4 separate regions of the Homo sapiens genome follow, and all the other regions are linked to region 4. Evidence: promoter capture Hi-C in 16 types of primary human blood cells and fetal thymus (Javierre and others, 2016). All regions are on one chromosome and are shown on one strand. The core of a region is centred on a gene start or on the middle of the fragment in contact, and the rest is flanking DNA. Distances in the headings are between cores, read along the strand shown. Region 1 overlaps RANBP2 (RAN binding protein 2). Region 2 overlaps CCDC138 (coiled-coil domain containing 138). Region 3 has its middle 2.1 kb from the start of RANBP2. Region 4 holds the start of GCC2 (GRIP and coiled-coil domain containing 2).

What was found. The method cuts DNA at HindIII sites, captures the fragments that hold promoters and counts their contacts. A CHiCAGO score of 5 or more calls a contact.
Region 1: a contact is called between a fragment that was not itself captured here and the fragment with the promoter of GCC2 in region 4, in 5 of 17 cell types (naive CD8 T cells, total CD8 T cells, total CD4 T cells and 2 more). The highest score is 6.8, in naive CD8 T cells.
Region 2: a contact is called between a fragment that was not itself captured here and the fragment with the promoter of GCC2 in region 4, in 1 of 17 cell types (monocytes). The highest score is 6.0, in monocytes.
Region 3: a contact is called between a fragment that was not itself captured here and the fragment with the promoter of GCC2 in region 4, in 1 of 17 cell types (total CD4 T cells). The highest score is 5.0, in total CD4 T cells.

Annotation. Positions count from the first base shown.
Region 1 is chr2:108,761,835-108,765,262 of GRCh38, reverse strand. It overlaps RANBP2 (RAN binding protein 2), which reads right to left. Exons shown (of 29, transcript NM_006267.5): 19 at 3,068-3,162; 20 at 1-2,026. Among named protein-coding and RNA genes, the nearest start is that of CCDC138, 23 kb to the left of the region's middle. The HindIII fragment of the contact is 1,896 bases long and covers 363-2,258 here.
Region 2 is chr2:108,802,346-108,805,668 of GRCh38, reverse strand. It overlaps CCDC138 (coiled-coil domain containing 138), which reads right to left. Exons shown (of 15, transcript NM_144978.3): 7 at 661-780. It also overlaps a transcript of RANBP2 not described here. Among named protein-coding and RNA genes, the nearest start is that of CCDC138, 17 kb to the right of the region's middle. The HindIII fragment of the contact is 1,116 bases long and covers 1,460-2,575 here.
Region 3 is chr2:108,715,676-108,719,166 of GRCh38, reverse strand. No RefSeq gene overlaps it. Among named protein-coding and RNA genes, the nearest start is that of RANBP2, 2.1 kb to the left of the region's middle. RefSeq lists an enhancer at 1-742. The HindIII fragment of the contact is 8,304 bases long and covers 1-3,491 here.
Region 4 is chr2:108,447,157-108,450,562 of GRCh38, reverse strand. GCC2 (GRIP and coiled-coil domain containing 2) reads right to left here and starts at 1,357. Exons shown (of 23, transcript NM_181453.4): 1 at 1,283-1,357; 2 at 874-930. The coding sequence starts at 1,288. RefSeq lists enhancers at 1-367, 453-1,434, 1,271-1,530, 1,435-2,417. The HindIII fragment of the contact is 5,578 bases long and covers 379-3,406 here.

The sequences.
Region 1 (3,428 bases), core at 61-2,560, 310 kb before region 4:
ATGGACTTGGTTTATCCGGATTCTGACAAGCAACACATCTTGTAGCATTTGCTTCATTTCGCACTAAGCATGAACTGCAATCCCACTGTCCTTCCTTCTTAGCAAACATGTCTTCAAATCCACTTTTTAGAGTTTTACTTGTCTCTGAAGTACCAAACTTAAAAGAGGCAGGTGTTGGAATAGAAGTAGCAGGTAGACTCTGTTTTCTCGGATTCTGACAAGCAGCACATTTTGTAGAGCTCCCCTCATTTTGTACCAAACATGCACTGCAATCCCACTGTCCTTCCTTTGTAGAAAAAACAGATCTGAAATCACTGTTAATAGGTTTAGGAAGATCTCCCTGGCCAAATTTAAATGAAGCTTGATGAACAAATGAAGATCCACTTTTGTTAGCAGATTTTGTATTCTGACACGCAATGCACCTAGATACAGTAGGTTCATTTCTTACTAAACAAATACTACAATCCCAGTGACCTTCTTTCTTTGGAGTCACCAATGCAAATCGATCTTGAACATTCTCTGGGCTGGTTTTAGGAGTAAAAACAGTTTCAGCTAATGGTGGGCCAACGAGCTCTTTATTGCTTGGGTTTAGATTTTGGCATGATACACATTTCTTAGCAGTTGAAGCATTCTTTAATGAGCAGCTGTTACAATGCCACCAAGACCCTTCTTTCTTTGCAACCTGAAATTCAAAATTCAGGTTTCCAGCATCAGATTTGCAAATATCCTTGTTATCATGACTTGTGGGTTCTTTTACAATTCTGACAGCCTGATTTGACGCCATGGCTACATTTGTTCCTGGGGCTTTTAAAATGCTCTGGGCTTCTTCAAACTTGCATTTAAAAAGTGCTGCTTCCTCAGGAGTTTTGAACCTAATAGCAAGTTGTTCTGGTTTTGGCAACTCATCTGCATAATCAAGGGCATGCCATACAAAAGATCTGTCTGATCCAGCATTTGGTGTCAATTTCATATCTGGACTGATGTAATGATTTGCACAGATTTTCAATACTTGCTCTCGTCTCATTAGAAGGCGAATTTTACCAGATGTTTTATGCCTCAGTATTTTTACATTGCCAATCCCACGTTCTTTCCATTCTTTGGATTCTACATCGAAACGAAACAATTTCGCGCGGTTGCAAAAGAATTCTTCTTCATCTTCCTCACCAGTTTTTACTTCAATCTTATCAGGAAGAGGTACTACAGGCTCAAAGTGAGGACCGTCATCATCATCATCCCCATGGGCACTTCCTCCATCTGTCTCATGATTCTTGTTTGCTGTCTCTAAAGTGGGTGTTCCAAATACTGATTTCCCTGGACCATGGAAAGTAAACATATCATCACTTCGCCGAAAACCAGAATTCTTTTGCTGACTCGACCCCATGTTTTCTGTAAATGAAATTCCAGACACATTTTTGCTTCCAAAATTGAATGTATTTCGAGGCCCAATGGTTTGACCACCAGGAATTGGTTTGGCTCCACTATAGCCATCTCCTTGCAAGGGTTTATCTGAAGTCAGGAGACCTAAAAGGCTTTCACTGTTACTGTAAGCTGCAGGAGGGGGCTGTGTCACAACCTGTGGTGAGGAAAACGTGAAGTCACCATCATTTGATTTGAAATTTGAGTTAAATTTAAAAGGAGTTGGCTGTGTTGTGTGTGCTTGTGTTGGCAAAGATGGCCTTAATCCTTCACCCGGCATGGGCTGAACAAAATTAGTTTTCCCAAATTCTATAGTCTTAGATTCTGCAGATCTTGAAGCATGAGCTGCAATCGGAGGTTTTGTGAAATATCCTGGTTCTGGCAAAGGTGGATTTGTGCTTGTCTGTTGAACATTGTAATTAAAGTAATCATCACCCCTGGGCGATAGAATTCCCGTTGCAGGAGACTCAAAACGCAATGCAGGAGGACCATACATCTCCTGAGAGAACATACAAGCAGATGAGCTTTGCACTGGCGGTGTGTGCATCTGTTGCGGATAGGCATAAATATGCTGTTGGGGTGGAAGCCTATTCATGCCATAGACTGGGCCCTAAAAGACAGAAAGTTAAAACATTTTGTAGATTGTCTACAAAACTACAGATAACTAAATGCAAACCAATTCTCACAAACTTCAAACATGAATATGAAGTGAAGAAGATCTCATTAGGGGATGTAGTACACATCATTAACCCGTTTATGCCAGAGGCTGCAAATTTTCTGTGTGAAAAATCAGACCTTGGCAATGACCTTGAGCAGTAGGATATAAATAACTCCCATAAGCTTAGTGTTCCAATAATGGAGCACTAGGCATAAGTAGGTTAAGAGAAAACCACATTACTACAAAGATACTTGCATATATACTTGGCATATAATGAAAATTATGTATAGCATCTTAAAATCTACAGCTAAAGTCATAAAATAAATACCTTCTTCATTCCTAATTTATCAAATGATGTTAATGATGATGATGATGATGATGATGATGATGGTAACATTTATTGAGCATTTATTAATGTGCCAGCTGGGCACTGTTCTAAGCACTTTACATTATTATCTCATTTTAATATCCTCAAAAACCCTATGAATTAAGGTATTATTATTATCCTCATTTTACATATGAGGCAACTGATGCATTGAGAGGTTAAGAAACTTGCCTGTGGTCAAAATAAGCAGAAGAGCAAGGGTCTAAATGCACCCCAACACTCTGTCCTCAAAGCTGTCACATTCAACTACCACTGTAATATTGAGTCTTCAATCAATTGTTATATATATAGCTGTATCAGGCCTGAAAGTACTTACCACATAGTGGGTCAGCAAGGGCATTACAGTTCTATTTCTGTTAAAACAGAACGATGAAGGATCCACCACCACCACTCCCATTTTTAAAATATTCTAAATATTCACACTTATTAACACAAAAATAAGGTGACTAAGAAGGATAATTTCTGTATTTGGAGATAAATTTAAAATATCTACATTTTAAGGGACATAAAAGTTTTAATAGTGAACTGCTCTCTTGAATTTATTTGAAGGAACCCTAAACAATTTAAAAAGGAAATAATTATAAATGTATAAATTATTCCTTTGTTACCTTTGTGGGAGTAACATTAGCTGCTGGTCTGAGAAGATACTGGGAATTATATGCTGGTGACTGACTATAATATACTGAAGGGCCAGTAGTTGCAACTAAAAAAACAAAAAGAAAATAAAGAAAACACTGTTAAAGTCTATACTACAGTTAAGACTATCTAGGCAAGAGCTATAAATACAAAGGCAATAGAAATTAAAGAAAGATTTAACTACATAAATTTTAAATTTCTGTACATCAAAATACACCAATCAAGATTATCAAATGACAAACTAGAAAAAAACTGCTAAATATGACATGAAGAATAAGAGAATAGCATTGCTGTGATCAACAAGAACAACTACCTCACAAGCATTAAAAAAGG
Region 2 (3,323 bases), core at 768-3,267, 350 kb before region 4:
TGCAAGCTCCGCCTCCTGGGTTCACGACATTCTCCTGCCTCAGCCTCCCGAGTAGCTGGGACTACAGGCGCCCGCCATCACGCCCAGCTATTTTTTTTTGTATTTTTGGTAGAGACGGGGTTTCACTGTGTTAGCCAGGATGGTCTCGAACTCCTGACCTCGTGATCCGCCCACCTCAGCCTCCCAAAGTGCTGGGATTACAGGCGTGAGCCACCGCGCCTGGCCTGCAATACTTATATAAATAAGTATACTGCAATGTGATACCAGTTTATAACCATGAGAACATGAGCAATGTGAAGGTCTGAGTCTAGCATGATGCCTAGGATATAATAGATACTCAAAAATAAATGAATGTTAAATAAGTAGTGATAAATAATAAGTATTAAAGCCAGAGATCAGTACCTAAAAATGTAATCAGTTCTCAGGTTATCAGGTTTTTTTCTTTTGTTTGTCAGTTGGTTGCCAGAACAAATAAAGAGAAGAGACCAAAGAGCTAAAGAATACTTTATTTACATTTGGAAGTATTTTAAAATAAAGCTAACAAATGTAATCCAAATTTTCTCTAGCTGAAACGTGTTCTAAGGCTGACTTTAATTTGTTATATATAAAATATACTTCTTAGAATGTCTTATGTTCAGTATATATTAAAACAGGTCTTACCTGTTTTTTTAAGGTATCATTCAATTCTTTCAATGCATCAAAAGAGGACCTCAGTCTCTTGGTTTCTTTATTCTTTTCCTTAAGAACTTCGGTTAAGTGTTCAACTTCTGCATCATGCTGCTAGGAGGAGAAAAAAAAAACTCTCATCTAAAACTTGTAAGGACTGTATATCACTAATACTATGGAACGTGAATTAATTACAAGTAAGAACTCCTTCAATCACAAAAACTTTAATCAGTGTATGCAAGCACAAGTGACTAGTGTGGCAAGTAATTTATAAAAACCATGCAATCTACCAAGATAACAACAAAACATCAAAGGCATTTACAACATACTTATTAAAACATATTAGCATTTACAAAGTAGCAATGAGTCTATTTTCTGCTTCTGCTCAGAAAAATCCACTCACACAAACTCATGGAAATATTTTCTTTGACATCATGGAATAATAAAACAGTAAAGAATTTCTGATACTCTTCAAGAGATAAGCTATTTATGGCTTTATAAAGTGTATAATTTACATTACCTTTGAGAAATGAAAGAAATCTTTCATAAAACCAACTAATTTCTTGTCCTCATAAAGCAGCTAAAATTTTTGATGCCTGCTTTTCATCTCAAAATATGTTAGATACATAATAAAATTTCTTAGCCCCAAACTATTTGACTCTTCTTAATCAGTTCTATAAATAATTCAAATCAACTTCCCCTCTAATTACATTTAAATGGGATAGCATGTTTTAGATTTTAAATGTGAATACTTAATAGTTTCACCTTTCACTTTCAACTTACTTATAAAGCTTTAAAACAAGTTTCTACAGGAAATCAAAAAATTGAATTAATTCCCTTCTTCCAAGTAGTGATATAAATACGATGAAAATAAGGCAGTTATCCTTATACTTAATAAAAATAGATACACAAATCTAAAGAGAATCAAGAATAAGACAAAAATGGAGAGATCAGAGAATCTAAGCATTCTTTAGCCCTGTGAAAAAAATCCAATATTCTAAGAAGTTAATCTTTGTATGACTTTATTACTATATTGATTCCTTAAATAACTTAGGATATAGTCACAAATACAGTTATTTTTAAAACTAATATTTTCATTGTCCAACTTTTTCCATATCTAAAAGATACTAAAAACATATGCATTCCATTTCTAGCACAGCAGGATAAGCTCAATACACTCTTCTCCCACTGATTATAGCTAAAAGCCCTAAATAAACCATAAAACAACTAACTGACAACTGTGAAAAGAAAAAAGGGGAGGACATTGTGATGGGAGAGAAAACTTGTAGAAGCAACCCTCAAGGGTAAAGTTTCCTGCATTTTTGTTTTTGCTCTTCTCTCAACATTTTGCCTCAGGGTGGGTCCCAGACATGGAGAAGTAGAACAAAAACTTCCACTAGCTGGGCACAGTGGTGCACATCTGTAGTCCCAGGCACTCAGGAGGCTGAGGGAGGAAGATGACTTGAGGGTGCAGTGAGCTATGATGACGTCTGTGCATAGCCACTGCGCTCCAGCCTGGGCAACACAGCAAGACTCTGTCTCTAAAACAATTAAAAAAAAATTTTTTTTTAATTTCCACTAAAGCTCTAAAAAATGTCCACTAAAGAAATGAGAGAAAACCAGTCTTCCTGGCAAGATAATCAGGAAGAGGGGCCTCTATGAGCCAGAGTGTGGGGAGAATCCCGCAGAAGAGAGACTCAAACAGAGGATCCTCTCACTCTGGTGTTTACGAACCTGTACAAATTGGGCTCAACTTTGAGCCGCTCAGGCGGGCACAGGACAGACCAAAAGCAGTAGAGCAAACGCTTGGAGAATGGAGCTCAGTTTAAAACTATTACCTAAGTCTTGGCTAACACTTTAATGCCTCTTTACCTGCACAAAAAACACCCAGAGCAGCATAGCAAAAGCTTTGAGAAATGCATTAGGATTTTAAACTGTTACCCAAGTCTCAGACCAACCTTTAAGAGGCACAGGCACAAGACAACTCCACAGCAACATTGCAAAGGCTTTGAAAGCAAAGTGGGCTTCATCCCTGGGATGCAAGGCTGGTTCAATATACGCAAATCAATAAATGTAATCCAGCATATAAACAGAGCCAAAGACAAAAACCACGTGATTATCTCAACAGATGCAGAAAAAGCCTTTGACAAAATTCAACAACCCTTCATGCTGAAAACTCTCAATAAATTAGGTATTGATGGGACGTATTTCAAAATAATAAGAGCTATCTATGACAAACCCACAGCCGATATCATACTGAATGGGCAAAAACTGGAAGCATTCCCTTTGAAAACTGGCACAAGACAGGGATGCCTTCTCTCACCACTCCTATTCAACATAGTGTTGGAAGTTCTGGCCAGGGCAATCAGGCAGGAGAAGGAAATAAAAGGTATTCAGTTAGGAAAAGAGGAAGTCAAATTGTCCCTGTTTGCAGACGACATGATTGTTTATCTAGAAAACCCTATCGTCTCAGCCCAAAATCTCCTTAAGCTGATAAGCAACTTCAGCAAAGTCTCAGGATACAAAATCAATGTACAAAAATCACAAGCATTCTTATACACCAACAACAGACAAACAGAGAGCCACATCATGAGTGAACTCCCATTCACAATTGCTTCAAAGAGAATAAAATACCTAGGAATCCAACTTACAAGGGA
Region 3 (3,491 bases), core at 14-2,513, 270 kb before region 4:
AATTGGAACAAAGTTTCTGGAGATGACTGGTTAAATACGTTGCATCGGACATGTGTGAATACTAAAGCATACATTTTTAAATTCATATCTTATTAAATGAGGGCCAGGCGTGGTGGCTCACGCCTGTAATCCCAGCACTTTGAGAGGCCACGGCGGGCGGATCATGAGGTCAGGAAATCGAGACCATCCTGGCTAGCACAGGGAAACCCCATCTCTACCAAAAATACAAAAAATTAGCCGGCCGTGGTGTCGGACGCCTGTAGTCCCAGCTACTCCGGAGGCTAAGGCAGGAGAATCGCTTGAACCCGGGAGGCGGAGGTTGCAGTGAGCCGAGATTGCGCCGTCTGGGCGACAGAGGGAGACTCCGTCTGAATTTAAAAAAAAAAAAAAAGGGAGATTTAGAACTGCATAATGAAAAAGACCACAAATATTAAGTTTTGGACAATTACAATTTTTTAAACAGTCATCTCGGCGGGGGATTGGTTCCAGAACCACCGTCTTATGCCAAAATCCACGCATTCCGCCGGGCGCTGTGGTTCACGCCTGTAATCCCAGCACTTTGGGAGGCCGAGGCGGGCGGATCACCTGAGGTCAGGAGTTCGAAACCAGCCTGGCCAACATGGCGAAAGCCCATCTCTACTAAAAATACAAAAAATTACCTGGGCGTGGAGGTGGGCCCCTATAATCCCAGCTACTCGGGAGGCTGAGGCACGAGAATCGCTTGAAACTGAGAGGCGAGGGTTACAGTGAGCTGAGATCGCGCCACTGCACTCAAGCCTGGGCGAGAGTAAGACTTCCTAAAAAAAAAAAGAAGAAGAAGAAGTCCGCGCATTCTCAAATCCCGCAGTCAGTCCTGCGGGTGGAACACTTAGAGGAAAAGTCAGACCTCTCTATATGCAGGCCCCTCCAATACTGTATTTTCTGTCGGCTTATAAGCGGGCCCAGGCAGTTCAAACCCATGTTATTCAAGGGTCAACTGTGTATATAGGAATAGCCATTCGCCTGGCACAGTGGCTTAAGCTGGTAGCCCCAGCACTTTGGGAGGTCGAGGCGGGAGGATCCCTCGAGTCCAGGAGTTCCAGGTTACAATGAACTGTGATAGCGCCACTGCATTCCATCCTGGGCACCAGAGTGAGACCCTTGTCTCAAAAAAAAAAAAAAAAAGGAAAAGGAATAGCCCCCCCAAATCTATATATATTTCACTAGCAGAATAACAGAACATACCAAAATTTAACAGTAATAATGTAAAGATTTTGAGCCGTCTGTATTTTCCAAATCTTCAAAAATGTCTATTTTGGGAATTTGGATATTAAAATCTTACTTTTAAAACAAAATTTAACAAAACATTTTTAATAGTGAGAACCTTTTAGATTTTAAAAGCTCACATTTGTGTAAACATTACAGTCTGAATTATGTGGACAAATATCAAATGCGTTGACATTTTTAACTGGAAATTTGGGCTATTTTGGTTGTGGATAATTTTTTATCCTTTTTGTTTTTCCATATTTTCTAAATTTTGATATAATGAACAAGTATTGCCTTTCTAAAAAAGGAAAAACAGCATTTTGTTTTATTTCAACAATATTGGATGTGAATAAAAGAAAAGAAAAAGATGATTCTGAGCTTACCAGTGTGTGTGACCCACATTAACAGAAATGACATGTAAAGAAAATCTAGTTTGGAGTGGAAAATCCTATTTTAGGTAGTTGATTTCTTTCACTTGAGGTACCATTTATATATCCATGTGGGGATAGCCTAGTAGGAAGATGAAATGGTAGGACAGAGATCTTGATGGAAGTCAGTAGTTGCGGCACAGTTCTGAGGCCCAGCTACTCCAAAGGCAGAGGGGGAAACATCCCTTTAGCCCAGGATTGGAGACTGCAATGAGTTATGTTCATGCCTTTGCACTCCAGCCTGTGGAAGAGAATGAGATTCCTATCTCTAAAACGAAAAGAGGGCCAGGCACGATGGCTCACGCCTGTAATCCCAGCACACTGGGAGGCCCAGATGGGCTGATTGCTTGAGGCCAGGAGTTCAAGGCCAGCCTGGCCAACGTGTTGAAACCCTATCTCTACTAAAAATGCAAAAATTAACTGGGTATGGTGGTGCATGCCTGTAATCCCAGCTTCTTTGGATGGCTGAGGCACCTGAATTGCTTGAACCTGGGAGGTGGAGGTTGCAGTGAGCTGAGATCGTGCCAGTGCACTCTAGCCTGGGCAACAGAGCAGACTCTGTCTCAAAATAATAATAATAATAATATTTAATTAATTTAAAAATAAAAACCAAAAGAGAAGATCTGATGGACTTAAAAGTCATATATCTCAGGTGATAGGTGAAACCACAAGTTTGCCTTGAAAAGTGTGTTGATAACAATAGCCATAGCTAACAAGTACTTGCTGTGTTCCAAAGCTCTTTCTGTTAGCACTTCATTTGTATTAATATCATTCTTCCACCAACTTTGTAAGGGTACTGTTATTATCCTCAGTTTTTACAGATAAGGAAAGCAAAAGACAGCCAGGCACCATGGCTCATGCCTGTAATCCAAAACTTTGGGAGGCTGAGGTGGGAGGATCACTTGAGCCCAGTAGTTCAAGACCTGCCTGGGCAACATAGCAACACCCTGTGCTTACAAAAAAAAAGAAATTAAAAACTAGCCAGGCATGGTGGTGCCTGCCAGTAGTCCCAGCTATTTGGGAGACTGAAGCAGGAGGATCTCTTGAGGCTAGGTGTTGGAGGCTGCAGTGAGCTATGTTCACTCCACTGCACTCCAGCTTAGGTGACAGAGAAAGACCCTGTCTCCAAAAAAAAAAAAAAAAAAAGGAAACCAAGAGAATGAGCACTGAAGCAACTTGCCCAAACATACTCACCTAGTAAAAATGGTATCATTAATCCATTTATGTTGAATATATCGAAAAGGAGTGCCCAAAGAGAGAACCTTCTTTTTCCTTCTTTCTTTTTTTTTTTTTTTTGAGACGGAGTTTCACTCTGTGGTCCAGGTTGGACTGCAGTGGCACAATCTCGGCTCACTGCAACCTCTGCCTCCCAGGTTCAAGCAATTCTTGTGCCTCAGCCTCCTGAGTAGCTGGGATTACAGGTACATGCCATCACACCCGGGTTATTGTTGTATTTTTAGTAGAGACGGGGTTTCACCGTGTTGGACAGGCTGGTCTTGAACTCCTGGCCTCCAGTGATCCATCTGCCTCGGCCTCCCAAAGTGCTCGGATACAGGTGCCCGGCATCCACCGCGCCCAGCATCCAAAGAGAGAATCTTCTTGAGGAACTCAAAAGACTTTTCTCTTTTGGATAAGCAGTTCATATTTCTGCATTTATTAGGGATTTTCACATTTTACTTCATTTTACACTACATTTTTTTTTTGTTCAGTGGTATAACATTTTCACCAAGGCACTGAAAATTCCATTTGCATTAGTGTCCAATGTCATATATTCCCTACCATGTTGCAAATACAGTTCATTTGTCCAGCTTTATTGAG
Region 4 (3,406 bases), core at 108-2,607:
TAATTGCTATGCAACTACTAAAAATTAGTTATGCAACTACTATGAAACGTAAAAACCAGGCCATATCCTCTTATAGCTAATGTTACAGGTTGACATTGCTAGCTTTTGATTTAATTGTAAAATCAGTAGGTTGGAGCTAATGCTACTTAAAATTCCTTGGAGCTGTAAAATTATTTCATTCTATTCAAGGCTGCAAGTCTTTGGTCACAAGAAAATTTACGCATAATTACAGCAGCAAGATGAACCGGGTAACATTCAGGCTTTAATTAAAAAATTGAGCTTTACCACTTGAGAAAATTGCTTAAGCCTGTGGTCTCAGGTTTCTCATCTGTAAAAGGAGGGTAACAACAGTACCTATCTCATGGTTATCATGAAGCTTAAACGAAGGAACTGAGTGGTTAGGCAAGCGCCAGAAATTTAGCATGCACACAATAAACCTTAGCAATAAACCACTATCATTTAGAATGATTGAATGTTAAACATTGTACAGGGCCATAAAACTGGACTAATTAAACTCTTTGGCAATGTAGAAACTGGAGCCCACAGATCAGAATCCCTTGATTCCTACCCTATGTCACTGCTCCTTCCACTACACCACTATATAAACCTTCTTAGACTGCTTTATGTTCGAAAAATAGCAGGATCTCCCAGCAGTGCTAACCAGGAGCAGGAAGCAAACAAAAAGTCTTTCTATATCGGGGTGGGCGGGGGAGAAACAGGAAATGGGCGATTGCGCACACTAAAATTGAGATCCCTTGGAGCAAGGCTATTAAAAAAAAAAAAATCAGCGCCCCCCCCTTCCCCATGCCAAAGTTTTCCAATTCATCACCCTTCCACTCTTCAGGAAGCCCGCTATTCAAGTATTCTCTTCACCTTAGATTTCCCGGTCCCAGGGGTAGCTGGTGAAGCCACCCCATCTTGAACAAGATCCTGCAAAACAAAATCAAACCCAGGTGTCAGAAGAACTCTTTTCCTAATTCCACACGGAACGCGTAGAACCCTTACAGGGAAAAACCTTCTATGGAATCAAGTGGTGGAAAGCCTCGTGAGACAGAGAATGAGGGCGGACGGAGGCGGTCGCTGTGGCAATTCGTACACAAACGGGCTCTACGGGGCAGGTAACCCCCAGGGATAGAGTTTACGAAAGATGGGGAGGCGACAGCAGCGCGGGCTTCGGGACACCAAGAGGGAGACTACCGCGCCCTCCCATCGGGCCCACTCCCACATCCCAAATCGCGGCGCGGAAGGCTTGATGGGAGGCAGTGGGCCCGACCTGAGTTACCTCCATCTCCGCCAGCCCGCCGCCGGCCCGCAACCAGCCGCCGCCACCGCTGCACTTCTGTTTGCGCCAGCCTCTGACGTAGGCTCTACTGCAGGTCAAAGGTCGCGCTCTCCGGGCGGCCCGCCCCCCACGTCTCCATAGCTACAGCTCGGCAGCACTTCCGCTTCCGTGTCTGCGTCCGGGAGAAGGTTCCCCGTACGGCGCTAAGGGCGGAGTCCGTCTAGACGTTCTACCTGGGGCTCGACCCCTGGGCCTGCAGGTCACGGAGTAGGTGTGGGTCCCGCCACTGCCGGTTATTGGCATGGGAAGGCGGGCCGATTACCCCTTGGGGCCTCGGGCCTCGGTTTCCACGTCTGTAAAATCTTGTGAGAGTGAGGAACATTGGATTGCAGGACAGGTCTCTCAGTCCTCCAAAGGTGTCCGCTAGCCTGCGAGTGCCTGCGGGACCCACAGCTGGTTCCGGGGGGCTCCTTAGGCATTTGTGGCCAGCATGGTGCCCGGGAGCTCCGTGACTCACAGGTCAGGGATGCGGTAGAGGGCTTCCCTGAGGAGGCATTTCTTGACTCTGGAGGCTGTGAGGAGGTCCCTGGACAGCTCTGCCCTGCAGCCGCCCGGTACTGATGGTGATGTGGTGGAGGCAAGATAGTCGGCCAGGGAACTGGGCAGCCGTGGGAGGAGACTCTGTAGAGTAGGGGGCCCGAGGCCACCCTTTCCCGAAGGGCACGCCAGAGAATCTGTGGTCGAATCCCAGAGCTGCTGCTGTGTCCTGATTGGCGGTCCAGTGCTCTGAGAGCCTTTCTGTTAACTGCTGAAGTGGTTTGCTGCGCTTTCACCTTCCCATTAATGTTTTCCATACACTCCCATAACTAAGGTAACCTGAAGATAACCTAGTTTCCTGTAGTTTAAATGGTCAAAAGGTTGAAGAGGCAGCACACAGTATGTATCGAGTAAATGGTAGCTGATTATTACTAGGTAAAAGAAGTGTTATAAACGAGAAAGAACAGCTATTGTGGACATCTACTCTTTGTCTTTGACAGTGTGTATCACCTATGGTGTTTGTAGGATTGGTTCAGGGGTGGTGTGTGACCTAAGATGTACAGTCTCCACGTACAGTAACACACGTGTGTGTGTACACGTGTGTGTGTACACGTGTGTGTGTGCACGTGTGTGTGTGCACGTGTGCGCGCACGTGTGTGTGCACGTGTGTGTACACACATATATGCACACACATGTATACACACACACACACACAATCCCCAAGTATACATTGTTATTAATGGTCCAGATTAATGCCATTCAAAGTAGTTCCCCAAGTTAAGAGCAACTTACGGTAGACTCCTATTTCAATTAATAACTTGAAAAAATCACTTGCAATAAAATAGCAGGTTAACTAGATACTACACACATTCCAATCCTGTAAAAGTTTCTCAGAGAAACACTGTTAGATATAGTTACATTCCAGGAGTTTGGCTACATCAATAGCTACAGAAGAGTTGATGTTCTCACAGTAGAACTCTCTTTTTCTCATACTTGAAATAAAAAAGAACCTTTCTTTTCTTCCTTTGATCTTTCTTCCCTCGCCAGCCCTCCATTGCACTTGGCTGGGTAACAGGGTCCATGAGTTGCAGCTACAGGTAGGGCAGCGTCTCCTGGGAATCCCCAGGGAGATGAGGGTCAGCACACCCCTAAGCTCCAGGTCATCAGCGGCCTCCTCACACAGCTCGAGCTCACCCCCATCTGCCTTCCTGGTTGTCATTGGACAGGAATTTTATTTTCTGAGATGATGGAGGCAGGTATAATGTTCTTGACCATCGGATACCTTCTGTTGTTGTTCCTCTTAAGGAAGAAATCATTTATTTCTTCCTTCACTAGTTATAGTAAGTGCTGAAATCTTCTAAATATATTTATCATCTTTCATACTTTAAAGAATGAATATTTATGAATTGATTGTGAGTACTCTGAGATCTTCTGATATTCATAAACCTATAGGAAAGATCTGCTTTATATTTCACATTCTCTGGACTGCAGATAAGTTCACATTTTAAAGATGTATATTACCTTAATGAGCAGAACTATGACCTGTTTAACGAATATGTTTCTTTCCAATTGTAAAAGTAACACAGG